Regions from separate parts of the Homo sapiens genome. Here all the other regions are linked to region 3. Evidence: promoter capture Hi-C in human tissues and cell types (Jung and others, 2019). All regions are on one chromosome and are shown on one strand. The core of a region is centred on a gene start or on the middle of the fragment in contact, and the rest is flanking DNA. Distances in the headings are between cores, read along the strand shown. Region 1 overlaps BSDC1 (BSD domain containing 1). Region 2 overlaps HDAC1 (histone deacetylase 1). Region 3 holds the start of SYNC (syncoilin, intermediate filament protein).

Evidence for each region. Contacts are between HindIII fragments. The study calls those that stand out against the background at their distance.
Region 1: a fragment that was not itself captured here is called in contact with the fragment with the promoter of SYNC in region 3 in 1 of the 25 tissues and cell types used here (psoas muscle).
Region 2: a contact is called between a fragment that was not itself captured here and the fragment with the promoter of SYNC in region 3, in 1 of the 25 tissues and cell types used here (pancreas).

What each region holds. Positions count from the first base shown.
Region 1 is chr1:32,366,446-32,371,027 of GRCh38, forward strand. It overlaps BSDC1 (BSD domain containing 1), which reads right to left. Exons shown (of 11, transcript NM_018045.8): 10 at 2,002-2,105; 11 at 1-209. The coding sequence ends at 177. Among named protein-coding and RNA genes, the nearest start is that of TSSK3, 6.2 kb to the left of the region's middle. The HindIII fragment of the contact is 7,750 bases long and covers 1-4,582 here.
Region 2 is chr1:32,317,096-32,321,625 of GRCh38, forward strand. All of the region lies in intron 3 of HDAC1 (histone deacetylase 1), which reads left to right. Among named protein-coding and RNA genes, the nearest start is that of MARCKSL1, 17 kb to the right of the region's middle. The HindIII fragment of the contact is 4,777 bases long and covers 695-4,530 here.
Region 3 is chr1:32,700,653-32,705,050 of GRCh38, forward strand. SYNC (syncoilin, intermediate filament protein) reads right to left here and starts at 2,118. Exons shown (of 5, transcript NM_030786.3): 1 at 1,956-2,118. The coding sequence starts at 2,008. RefSeq lists enhancers at 1,586-2,351, 2,352-3,117 and silencers at 2,478-2,527, 2,578-2,667. The HindIII fragment of the contact is 12,190 bases long and covers 1-4,398 here.

The DNA of each region.
Region 1 (4,582 bases), core at 1,591-4,090, 330 kb before region 3:
TCCCAGGTGTGAGCAGAGGCCCAAGAGGGCCAGCAGGGAGCCACCAGAATCTGTGCCCAGAGCTCTGGTTGGCAGAGGAGATTTGGGGGAACATTCTCAGTCTTCCAGGGCTGGGCTGAGACGAGCGAGGGAGGCGAGAGATGCCATGGGTGGGGGAGCTGCTCCCTCTGGCTCCCTCACTCCCAGTCCTCCCACTCTACATCTTCCAGCTGCAAATGGGAGGGGGTAATGGAAATCACAAACACATAGTTACTCCTGAGTCAGGCCCAGACCTAACCTCCACTTGCTGAGCAGAGCCACCTCCCATCCCCTACCCCAGGCCATACTCTGAGGTCCCACTGAGAGTGAACCCCTAGTCTTAAGGAATGTGTCTGAGGGGCAGAGCTGCCCTCTGCCTGAGGGGTGGGCCTGATGCTCTGATTACCTCAGACCTAAAGGAAACACTTCCCCCAACCAACACCAGACACCACAAGGTGATGGCTGCCTACAGGAACCAAGTCAGCCTCAGTCCTTTAAGGAGAACTTGCCTCCTGCTGAGCAGATAATGCCATGGCTCTGAGAAGCAGAGAACTCAGGAGGCCTGAGCAGATACTTGGCCCTGGACACAAAAGACCAGTGTAATCAAGGGCAAGTTACTTAGTCTTTGGGTGAATGGAGGCCACTGCCTGAGTGGCACTGTGGCCAAAAGCAGAGGTGGCAGTGGCCTACAGATGCCCACTAGGTCTTCACTAGGGGCACCAACACCCTAATTCCCAGCTCAAGTCTCCCCACGGAACGTTTTCTTGCTTTGTTCCTACTCTTGGCCTGCTGTCGGCTAAGCCCTGGTATAGCAGGTTCTAGAATGCTCACGTGTACTGCACGTCAGGTTTTAAAGGGGGCTGCAAAGACACAAAAAGCCAGCAAGCCCCTGTGGCCTGACAGGGCACTATGGGCTTTCTCTGTCCTGGGTATAGTGAGGTAGTCACAAGTGCAAAATACTCCTGAGTAGGTAAAATACTCCCCCAAGGCTTCAGTTTCCCATCATGAAAAAGGAGGCCCTTCACATGTCTCTCTAATCTGTCCACCTCTTTCTAACAGGCTCATAAGTTACATGATGGAAGGACTCATGTGGTTCTTATGTGACAGTGGAACTAACGCTGACATGAATCAGATGTCTGGGTTGCAGCCTCAGTCCTGTCACTTATTAGCTGGGAGAGCTTTGGACTGTTCCAGCCTCTCAATCTAAATGAGCCACTTTTGATTCTGAGAGGTAGTGAAGAATAACAGTACTAAGGCCTCCTTGAGCTTAATAACTGGAATGGGTTTTGTGGGGTTTATCACTAATGTCTCCTGAGTGCTGGTCACCATGTCTCAGGCAATAGCCCTAAGGTGTCTACATGGATCACCTCATTACAGCTTATAGCCAGGTCTTATAATGATCAATTCCATGTTTTAGATGAGGAACCAGGGGCTCAGGTTAAGTAACTTGCCCTTGCCCTTGATCACACTGGTCTTTTGTCTCCAAGGCCAAGTATATACTCAGGCCTCATACCTGAGGACCACAACTCAGAAGGTCAGGCAGGGTTTGATGTCTGTTTTCTTTTTTCCTTTTTTTTTTTTTTTCAAAAACAGAAATGGGGTCTCACTATATTGGCCAGGCTGGTCTTGAACTCCTCGCCTCAAGCAATCCTCCCACCTTGGCCTCCCAAAGTGTTGGGATTACAGGTGTGAGCCACCGCGCTCAGCATGACATCTGTTTTCTTAAGCAGTTTCTCAGGCAATTTTGATACAGAGCTAAGGTCAAGAACTTGACCCTCTATCCACCCTGGAACTGAGGAAAAGTGCAGCCTGCTGATGACCAATGTTGTGGGTCTGAGCAGGAAGCTCCAGCTCCTTTCCCACCACCTGTCACCTCAGACAGGAGCAGGGACCCTCCTGAGGGGACAGCTGGGCTGGCTGGGGAGAGCTCTCACACCCAGGACCATTAGGCTCGCTTCCCTCTGACCCACCAGGCCCACTCACCTCCCCGGAGGCATCCACTTTGGAAAGTGCCATCTGCACCTCCTCTTCAGTCATGTCCAAGTCAAAGTCTTTCTCCCAGTCCTCACTGATGTCCGTGCTTGAGCCTGGAACCACGAGCCACAGTGTGAAAAGCAGGAGGAGGCAGGGAAGGGGCACCTGAAGAGGGTGTAGCTGGGGAGATAGCATGCTTCAAAAGGGTCTCACAAATACACAAGTCTTTACATTTTGTGTTCACTCTGGCGCACCAATCGTACTTTTTTTTTTTGTTTTCTTAGATGGAGTCTTGCTGTCACCCAGGCTGGAGTGCAGTGGTGTGATCCCGGCCCACTGCAACCTCTGCTTCCCAGGTTCAAGCGATTCTCCTGCCTCAGCCTCCCAAGTAGCTGGGACTACAGGCGCACGCCCCACACACCTGGCTAATTTTTGTATTTTTAGTAGAGACGGGGTTTCACCATGTTGGCCAGGCTGGTTTCAAACTCCTGACCTCAATGATCTGGCCACCTCGGCCTCCCAAGGTGCTGGGATTATAGGTGTGAGCCACCGCACCTGGCCCCCACTTTTAAGAATCTATTCTAAGGAAAAATCTTGGATTCAGTCAGAAATTTAGCAAAGAGTGTTCACTGCAGTGCTGTCATAGTGATGGAAACCTAGAAACAATCTGAAAGCCCACTGACAGGGAATTAGACAAGTAAACAGTGAGTTACATGGTGGAACACTGTAGGCTGTTAGAGGTTAGGCTGGAGAAGAACTTCACATCCATGCCAAACAGCCTTAAACTATTACCTCGGAAAAGGCAGGTTACTAAAGAGCGGAGAAGCACTTTGGCCCAGAGGCTCCAAGAGAGTCACAGAAATCTTCCAGAGGAAATCAACAGTGAACTGAGACCTTGTCTCTAGAAAAAAATTTAAAAATTAGCCAGGCATGGTAGTACACACCTAAGGAGTCCCAGCTACTCAGGAGGCTGAGGTGTGGTGATCACTTGAGCCCAGGAGTTCAAGGCTGCAGTGAGCTATGATCATGCCACTGCAGTCCAGCCTGTTGACAGTGCAAAACCCTGTCTCTAAAGAAAACAAAAACCTCCCCTCGGACCCCCAAACAGTAGACCTCTTCTTCCTCACTCCATTCTGCCCACACTAATCTTGTTCCTCCAGAAACATACCAGGCGCATTCCCAACTTAGGGCTTTTGCATGGGCTGTTCCCTGCACCTGGAACTCGTATCCTCAGATATCTACAAGACCAACTTTTCACCTCCTTCATGCCATTGCTCAAATCGTACCTTCTAGATGTGGCCTACACTGACCATCCTAGTTTAAAGAGCAACCCATCATCACCCTCACTCTGCTCTAGTTGTTCTTTTTTTTCTGAGACAGAGTCTCGCTCTGTCACCCAGGCTGGAGTGCAGTGGCACGATCTCAGCTCCCTGCAACCTCCGCCTCCTGGGTTCAAGAGATTCTCTTGCCTCAGCCTCCTGAGTAGCTGGGATTACAGGCACCTGCCTGGTACCACATCCAGCTAATTTTTGTATTTTTACTTATTTATTTATTTTTTGAGACGGAGTCTCGCTCTGTTGCCCAGGCTGGAGTGCAGTGGCGCGATCCTAGCTCACTGCAACCTCTGCCTCGCAGGTTCAAGTGATTCTCCTGCCTCAGCCTCCTGAGTAGCTGAGATTACAGGGGCATGCCACCATGCCTGGATAATTTTTGTATTTTTAGTAGAAACGGGGTTTCACTATGTTGGCCAGGCTGGTCTCAAACTCCTGACCTTAGGTGATCCGCCTGCTTTGACCTCCCAAAGTACTGGGATTATAGGCGTGAGCCACTGCGCCTGGCTCTGGATTGTTCTTTTTCCCATTGTAGTGATCACTTTCTAACATATTACATAATCAGACTTAATATGTTTATTGTATATTAATAGAGGAGTTAGAATATAAGCCCTGTGAGTGCCAGGATCTTTTGTTTTGTTCTCTTATGTATTTCAAGTTTTTAGAACACATAGTTGGCACTCAATAGTCACAGACCCTTTCTGTAAACCAGGGGTTGGCAAACTATGGCCCAGGGATCAAATCTAGCCATGTCGCCGGGCGTGGTGGCTCACGCTTGTAATCCCAGCACTTTGGGAGGCCGAGACAGGTGGATCACGAGGTCAGAAGATCGAGACCACCCTGGCTAATGTGGTGAAACCCCATCTCTACTAAAAATACAAAAAATTAGCTGGGGGTGGTGGCAAGCGCCTGTTAGTCCCAGCTACTCGGGAGGCTGAGGCAGAAGAATCGCTTGAACCCGGGAGGCAGAGCTTGCAGTGAGCCAAGATCCCGCCATTGCACTCCAGCCTGGGTGACAGAGTGAGACTCCGTCTCAAAAAAAAAAAAAAAAAAAAAAAAAAAAATTCTAGCCATGTCACATCATTTGTTTACATACTGTCTATGGCTGCTTTCATGCTGCAAGAGCGGAGATGAGTAATTTTGACTGCATGGCCCAAAAAGCCTAAAATATTTATGGTCTGGTCCTATACAGAAAAAGCTTACCACCCTCTGCTCTAGATGATTCTGATGCCTGTCTGTACTATTTGATGATCATTGCT
Region 2 (4,530 bases), core at 1,833-4,332, 380 kb before region 3:
AGCTGAGTGGGCAAGTCACTTCCCCTCAGATTCTTCTTTTGTAAAGTGGGCTGGGCCACATGATCTCTGATTTCTGTCCAACTGTAACTGTTTTGACTTAGTGGGTATTAATTGAGAATTTAGAGGCCACTCAGGACAGATTCTAGATGGTGTAATCTTTGAGATGAGGTGATGCTGCCCCTGATCCCTTGGACTTGAACTTCAGAGCAGGTCCCATCTTGGAAGCCACGCTTAGTTTGTAGGAATCGTGGGAATTATTTTAGCTGTGAGGGGGAAAAAAAAAGTATTCAAATTTGGGACAAAACTATCATACCTGACTTCCCCCTTGTGTTATTTTAGAAATTATCTCTTAGCACCTAAGACTTCATATAGTATAACAGCACTGTCCAGAAGAAGTTTTGATTAACTTATGACAGCTTATATGGAAGTGTCAGAAAATATGCGGCACTTGTTTGTTGCTGCTGACCACAAGGTAGTCTTACTCCCAAGGAAGAAAGTTATTTATAACTATTATTACAACTAATAATAACTGTACAGTGGTATTGATGGCAGAACCACAGAGACCTTCCTTGAAGCATTAAGCTTCTTTGCTACCGACAACTCCAGGAGCTGCCAGCTGCTGTGAGTGAGGTGTTTGCTCTCTGAATTGCAGGGTCTTATTTCCCTCCAAGATGAGGCAAATTCATGCCTTTCCTGTAGATGGCTTTAGAGGTTTCCATAACCCATTTAGGCCAAGGATCAGGCTCTACTCTCAGCACAGTGGGCTCTCACTAGAGGAGCAACTTGCTATTAAAGTAAGAAAATAAGCTTTCATGTCTTAGTTTGAATCCTTGGTTTCCTAGCCCCTCTGGTGTTATTTCCCGCCCCTGCCACTTTTTTTTGAGACAGAGTTTCGCTCTTGTTGCCCAGGCTGGAGTGCAATGGGGCGATCTCTACTCACCACAACCTCCGTCTCCCGGCTTCAAGCGATTATCCTGCCTCAGCCTCCTGAGTAGCTGGGATTACAGGGATGTGCCACCACGCCCGGCTAATTTTGTATTTTTAGGTTTCTCCATGTTAGTCAGGCTGGTCTCAAACTCCCGACCTCAGGTGATATGCCAGCCTCGGCTTCCCCAAGTGCTGGGATTATAGGCCTGAGCCACTGTGCCCGACCTGTTTTCCCTCTTTAAGAGGAAGACAGGACAGGCACAGCGGTTCATGCCTGTAATCCTAGCACTTTGGGAGCCCAAGGTGGGAGGATTGCTTGAGCCCAGCCAGGAGTTTGAGACCAGCCTGGGCAACATAGTGAGACCCTCATCTCTACAAAAAAATAAAAAAATTAGCTGGGCATGGCGGTGCACACCTGTGGTCCCAGCTACTCAGGAGGTTGAGGAGGGAGGATCTTTTGAGCCTGGAAGGTCGAGGCTGCAGTGAGCCATGATTGTACTACTGCACTCCAGCCTGGGCAACAGAGCGAGACCAAAAAAAAAAAGACATTAGTGCCTATTTCATAGTCAAGGATGGGGGAATAAGTGAAGATAATATATTTAAATATATATAATATGTCTACCCTCAATGAATTGCTTTTGCTATTTTTGCTATTGCATAATCACTTTTGCTATTATGACTTACTATTTTTATTATTTACAAACTTATCAAGGCAGACAAAATGCTATGCCCTGAGGAGTGTGCAGGTTCTGCTCTGGTGCGCCAATTTTTCCGAATCCAGCATTCTAAAGTTGTACATTAAAAAATTCAGTCTGGCTGGGTGTGGTGGCTTACGCCTGTAATCCCAGCAGTTTGGGAGGCTGAGGCAAGCAGATCACCTGGGGTCGGGAGTTTGAGACCAGCCTGGCCAACATAGTGAAACCCCATCTCTACTAAAAATACAAAAATTAGCTTGGTTTGGTGGTACATGCCTGTAATTCCAGCTACTCAGGAGGCTGAGGCAGGAGAATTGCTTGAACCCAGGAGGCAGAGGTTGCAGTGAGCCAAGATCGCGCCACTGCACTCCAGCCTGGGCGACAGAGCGAGACTCCGTCTCAAAAAAAAAAAATTCAGTCTGGGTGCCTATAGTCTCAGCTACTTAGGAGGCTGAAGCAGGAAGATTTCTTGAGCCCAGGAGTTCAAGGCCAGTCTGGGTAATATAGTGAGACCTGGTCTCTAAAAAAAATTTTTCTAATTAAAATAATTAGGTCTTGGATTTTTCTGTCATCAGAAATGGGGGCAGGAAGAATAAGCCTCTCTAAGAACTTCAGAGTACCTCACTGAGTTGATTTGTAGGGTTATGGAGGGTCAGAGTAGACAGAGACTTTAGATGTCACTTAACACAGTGCTTTATAACCTGGGGTATCTACCAAGACAGTAATGAGCCCTTTTTAAAAAAAGAATTATTTTTATTTTTATTCTTGTTTTTAGAGATGGGGTCTTGCTTTGTCATCCAGGGTACAGTACAGTGGCAAGATCATAGCTCACTGCAGCCTCAAATTCCTTAATCCTTAACTTGCCCTTTTAGAATATGTACCAATATCTAACCTAGGCGCTGGACATGGTAGCATGCACCTGTAATGCCAGTGCTTTGAAGGGCAAGGCAGGAGGGATAGCTTGAGGCCAGGAGTTCAAGACCAGCCTGGGCAGCATAGTGAGACCCCCATCTCTTATTTTATCTTAAAAAAATAAAAATAAAAAATTAGTTGTGTATGGTGGCACATGCCTGTGATTCTGGCTACTCAGGAGCCTGAGGCAGGAGGATCCCTTGAGCCCAGTTCAGGGCTGCATTGAGGTATGGTCTCATTTCGCCACCACACTCCAGCCTGGGCAACATAGCAAGAACTCGTCTCAATAAAAAAAAAACACACATGGCCAGGCGTGGTGGCTCATGCCTGTAATCCCAGCACTTTGGGAGGCCGAGGTGGGCGGATCACGAGGTCAGTACATCGAGACACCATCCTGGCTAACACGGTGAAACCCCGTCTCCACTAAAAATTTACAAAAAATTAGCCGGACGTGGTGGCAGGCGCTTGTGGTCCCAGCTACTCGGGAGGCTGAGGCACCAGAATGGTGTGAACCCGACAGGCGGAGCTTGCAGTGAGCCGAGATCACGCCACTGTACTCCAGCTTGGGCGACAGAGCGAGACTCCTTCTCAAAAAGAAAAAAAAAAAAACCCACACACACACAAAAACATCCCACACACCTAATCTAGGAAGTTATGCTTATGATAAGATCGAGTAAATCAGGTTTCCTTGCTTGTGGCTGAAATGTAATAAACCCTTTCTGGTCACTTTGAGAGCCTTGACCAGAAGTTCTGACCTAATATTTAGCAAGTGAAAATGGGAACACAAATAAATGCATTTAGGGGGCTTTTGGTGAAAACATGATAAAAGGGATTGGTAAAAAATTGGGAGACATTCTCATCCATTTTACAGACATGTAAACTTTCCCAGTCACACAGCAAGGTGATGGTAGAATGCAGAATGGAACTCTAGTCCCCCAATTCTGTAGTTTTAAAAAATATAGTGTATATAAAATATTTTAGATACACAGGCCAGGCAGGGTAGCTCATGCCTGTAATCCCAGCACTTTGGGAGGCTGAGGCAGGTGGATCACTTGAGGCCAGGAGTTTGAGACCAGCCTGGCCAGCGTGGTGAAACCCTGTCTCCACCAAAAGTACAAAAATTAGCCATGTGTGGTGGTATATGCCTGTAATCCCAGCTACTCGGGAGGCTGAGGCATGAGAATTGTTTGAACCTGGAGGGCAGAGGTTGCAGTGAGCCAAGATCGCGCCACTGCACTCCAGCCTGGGCGACAGAGCAAGACTCCATCTCAAAAAAAAAAAAAAAAAAAAAAAACAGAAAAAGAAAAAAACATATTTTAGACACACACAAAAAGCATCAAAAAATAATATAATGCACTTTGGGAGGCCGAGGCGGGCAGATCACGAGGTCAGGAGATCAAGACCATCCTGGCTAACACAGTGAAACCCCATCTCTACTAAAAATACAAAAAATTAGCCGGGTGTGGTGGTGGGTGCCTGTAGTCCCAGCTACTTGGGAGGCTGAGGCAGGAGAATGGTGTGAACCCAGGAGGCGGAGCTTGCAGTGAGCTGACATTGCGCCACTGCACTCCAGGCTGGGCAACAGAGCAAGACTCTGTCTCAAAAAAAAAAAAATAATAATAATAATATAATGAACATCCATGTGTGCCCAATACCCAGCCTGAGAAAGAAAACATTATCAATACAGTTGATGCCCCCTTGGGCATCTTTCCTTGATCACATACCCTTTCTCTCCCACTCCCCCAGCCCCCCACCCCATTACCAGCACTGCCAAGGTATAAGCACTATCCTGAGGTTAGTGTTTAATCTTCCCATCTCTTTGCAATGAGCATTTGACTGCCTTCTCTGCCTACGTCTGCTTCCACCTCTCACCCAGTATTGCTTCCCTTTAGTCTAAAGCTAGTGTGAGAATGAGAAAAGCGTTTATAGCAGAAAGAGAGAAAACCCATGGAAAAGTCTTCCCTACCCTCACAGATTAGCTCACATGAGTATCTGC
Region 3 (4,398 bases), core at 868-3,367:
CGCCATTGCCCTCCAGCCTGAGCAACAAGAGCAAGACTCTGTCTCAAAAAAAGAAAGAAAGAAAGAATCTTCATCTATTATCTCCATTTTATAGATGAGGAAGCCAATGCACAGAGTAAGAACTCACACAAGGTTCCACAACTGTTGTAAGTGGTGGAGGCTGGAGAAGGCCTGCAGTATTTACCACCCTCCTAGGATAGGCGTGAGGTCCAAAAGAGGTAACTACAGCACATATAAAAAGCCTGGCATGCAGCAGTCACAATATACTTTTTTTTTTTTTGAGATGGAGTTTCACTCTTGTTGCCCAGGCTGGAGTGCAATGGTGTAATCTCCGCTCACTGCAGCCTCTGCCTCCTGGGTTCAAGCAAGTCTCCTGTCTCAGCCTCCCAAGTAACTGGGATTACAGGCACACGCCACCACGCCTGGCTAATTTTTGTATTTTTAGTAGAGCCGGGTTTCACCATGTTGGCCGGGCTGGTCTTGAACTCCTGACCTCAGGTGATCCGCACACCTCGGCGTCCCAAAGTGCTGGGATTACAGGCGTGAGCCACCGCGCCGGGCCCACAATATACTTCTATCTATCTAACAAATTTCTACTCATCCTTCAAGCCCTGCTCAAACTTCATCTCTTCCGTAAAGTATCTCCCAGACAGCCCCATGTGTGTTCTCAGGGCACTCTGTATGCAGCACATCTTCACACTTATTGCTCCAGTTACAGAAGTACATGTGTCTGTCTCCCTGATAGTGAGTTTCCTAAGGACAAGCAGAGTTCTCATTCTGCTCTATATCCTAGGGTGGGGCTCTGTAAGGGCAGACAGGCAGAAACCAGATGAACTCCAAGGAGGAAATCTGCCCAAGGTCGAATGGCAAAGCTGGAAGTAAAACCCAGGCCTCCTGACCTCCAAGCTGTGCTGTTAGCACACATCGTGCTGCCTCCACCACCCCACCCATGGTGCCAGGCCTCTGCTGGGTGCTGCCCTCACACAGCCGCCTCTTTTAAACAGAGAGAGGAGGGAAAGAAGCAGATGACAGGAGGCTCAGAGGAGAGGAAGCCAGCTTAGTTGGGGCCCCTGACCTCGGGCTTCCTTGGGCCCTGGGCAGCCTGCCTCTGCCACTCTGTCCCTGTCCCCAGAGAACCGCAGAGCTCTCCAACCCTGTTCAGGGATGTGGCTGGGAGTCCATGTGACATTGTGCAGGCAAGAGTCCGTGTGTCTGACTGTAGCTGTAGGTGTGGACAGCAGTATGGGTGAGTGTGTGTGTGTAAGACCGCTCAGCTTTGTGCCCCTGTGTGACAGTGAAGGGGTGTCGGGAGCTATGTATTTGCACCCTCACCTCTTGGTACACTGGGAAGTCCCAGAGCCACAGTATGACCTGGGACAGAAATACACCTCACCCCAAACCCCTCAGCCACAGGTCCCTTCCCCCAATAATCAGCCGTGCCCTGCCAGGAGGGATAGTGGGGAGGGCCCCTGGACCCTTCCCCCACCCATCCCAGGCCAGACGGGAGAGAACAAGCCCTGACAGACTCTTAACTTCAAGCTGGCAGATGCCCAGCCTTGCACCAAGTGGCTTCCACACAGCCACTTCAGCAGGGGAGGCCTCTGTCTCCAACTGACATTTGCAGGGAGGAATGAAGGCTAGCGAGAAGTGTCTTTGGCTGCTATGGGCCAAATGGCACTTGAGCGGTGGATGCCCACTCGCCTGGAAGGGTTAATTTTCATGTAGTCCCGGGAGGGGGAGGGGTATTATAAAAAGCCACAGACAAACGGAGGTGCCAGGACCCCGGGACGGCCCGACTCCCCGATGTCCCCTCACGAGGCGGCTCCAGTGCCCCACCCCGGCTGGACCACTACCCCTAGACAGGCGAAAGACGCCCGCGGTCGGGGGGAAAGGGAACCCGTCCAGCAGCACCCCTTCCCCAGCGGGGCGGCGACGCGGGCCCGGCACTGTCCTACCTCGCGGCCTGGGCGGCGCCGTCCCCGCCGCGCCGGGGCTCCGGGCTGGCCATGGCTGCGCGACCCCGGGCTGGCGGCCGCGTTATTAATAGCCGGGCCCGCGGGCCCCTCGCTCCGGCGCCCGCGCCCGCCGCACTGCCAGCTGCAACCGACACCGGATCCCGGCCGGCCCCGGGCCGGGCGCGCCCACTTGGCCGGGGCTCCTGCCGGGGGAGGAGGGAGCGGCCGCGCGGACCTGGGGGCGGGGAGAGGCTGCCCCTCCCGGACCAGCCTGGGGCGGGGGTGGGAACGGGGGCCTGGAGCTGTCTTTCCAAACCTCCCAGCCCCCTCGTCTTCCCGAACCTTCTCTCCACCCTTCCTTTCGTGAGGTCCCGTTGCAGGGGGAGTCAGAAGGGGGGTCTGAAGCCCCAGGGAGCACCTTCCCTGTCCAGCCTGGGAGGGTGGAGGCAGGGTTGGGCGGGCTGCTCAAAGGGAGCCAGCACCCCTCTCCCGCGAGTGTTTGGGGGTGTCCGCTGCCGCTCAGCGCCCTCTGGTCCCCACCCAAGAGGGGAAGGGCCGCAGCCACCCTCTGGGCACTCCGGGCTGTCCCCGGCAGCTGTCGTGAAGGGCGGGGCAGGGCGCGGCCGGGGAGGAGGGTTCACGGCCACACCCCGCGCGTTTGGGGACAGCCTGGAGCCTGGGGGCGGGCTGGGTGGCTGGGGTTAGAGAGAACTGCGGAGGAGTTTACGCCTATCACATTGAGTCCATATTTAACCCCACTTTCTGCCCCACCCTTTGAGGCTTCCTGGGGTCTCTCTCCTGCTCCACCTGTCACCCCACTCAGCCCACTTCTGTCAACTTCAAGACATACCTCCCCCCACGTCCTCAGCCCACTAGTGTGAGGGTCAAACCAGCACTGACGTCTTTCTCCCCAAGAGAGAAGCTGCTGGGCCCCTTCCCAGACCTGGGCTTCAGGCGTTCTTCCTTCGGATTCCTTTTTCCACTTAGCTACCCTGTCTGGGGAGGTCTTTGACTCAATCGCAGAAGAATGCTGGCACCATAACAAGCCCCAGGGGCTGGGGTGCCTGGGAGGCCGGTGGGGGAAGCATGCCGTGGTGTTGAATGTGTGTGGGCTTGTGTGCCCCTGTGTGACTCTGCGGTGATTGTGGGGTACATGTCTGTGTGTGAGCATGTGGATGTGTGATTGTGTGATCTCAGGGTGAATGTGTGTGGTGATTGTGCCATGGTGGAGTGTCTTTGTGGGGCTGGCGGTTTTGACTCTGTGTGGGGGGCATGCATATGGTCCCGCTTGTGACTCTGACTGTGTGCTTGTGCGTGACTGGGGGTTGATAAATGTTCATTCATCCTCGCGTCTGAGTGTGCTGCCTGTGGCTGTATATTTATATTTCTCTGTCTAATGCAAGGGGGTGGAAGATTTAACACCCAGGGCAGCCAAATATACCCTTGTAAGGTACGCACGAGAAAAAGCCAGGTTTTGAGGCTGCTGGTCATTTTCTGACTTACCCCCGAACTATTCCAGGGGAGGAGGCTGGCGAAGCCTCAGCTGCTGGGCATTTGACATCTGCTGCCCGCCAGAGGAGAGCTAAGGCAGCAAGGGCAGGCCTGCCAGAGGCTCTGTTTGCTGTGGTACCAAGCAACAGGCGGCAAGGGTGGCATTCAGAAGAGCTGGCTCTGCCCCTCCAACCCCCAGCCCAGGACCTGGCCTTAGGCTGTCCCTAGGACTGAATTTCTGACCCGCTCCTACCCTCCTGCTCAGCGCTTCTTTAGGCTGAAACCCTGAATTCCCCAGGGTCCCAGAAACTTCCCCACCTCCAAGCCTTTGTTGTTGTTTTTTTTGTTGCTGTTGTTTCTTGCAGTCAGGGTCTCACTCTGTCATCCAGGCAGGAGTACGGTGGTGCAATCATGGTTCACGGCAGCCTCAACCTCCTGGGCTCAGGTGATCCTCCCATCTCAGCCTCCCGAGTAGCTGGAACTACAGATGCACACCACCACACCTGGATAATTTTTGTATTTTTTGTAAAGACGAGGTCTCACTGTGTTGCCTAGGCTGGTCTCAAACTCCTAGGCTCAAGCAGTCCTCCTACCTCAGCCTCCCAAAGTGCTGGGATTACAGGAGTGAGCCACCACACCCAGCCAGGCCTTTTCTGCTGCTCCCTCTGCCTAGAAAACCCTTTCCAGCTCTTCACAGCCCACCTTTTACTCTCCTTCAGGTCTCAGATCACATCTCACAGAGGCCTTCTCTGATGCCTCCCCACCCCCTGCCCATAATGTCCACCCATTTATTTTTTTGTTATGGGCTTTTTTGTTTTGTTGGGTTTTGTAAAATTTTATTTAATAGAGATGGGGTCTCACTATGTTGTTAAGGCTGATCTCAAACTCCTGGCCTCAAGGGATCCTCCAGACTCAGCCTCCCAAAGTGCTGGGATTACAAGCAGGAGCCACC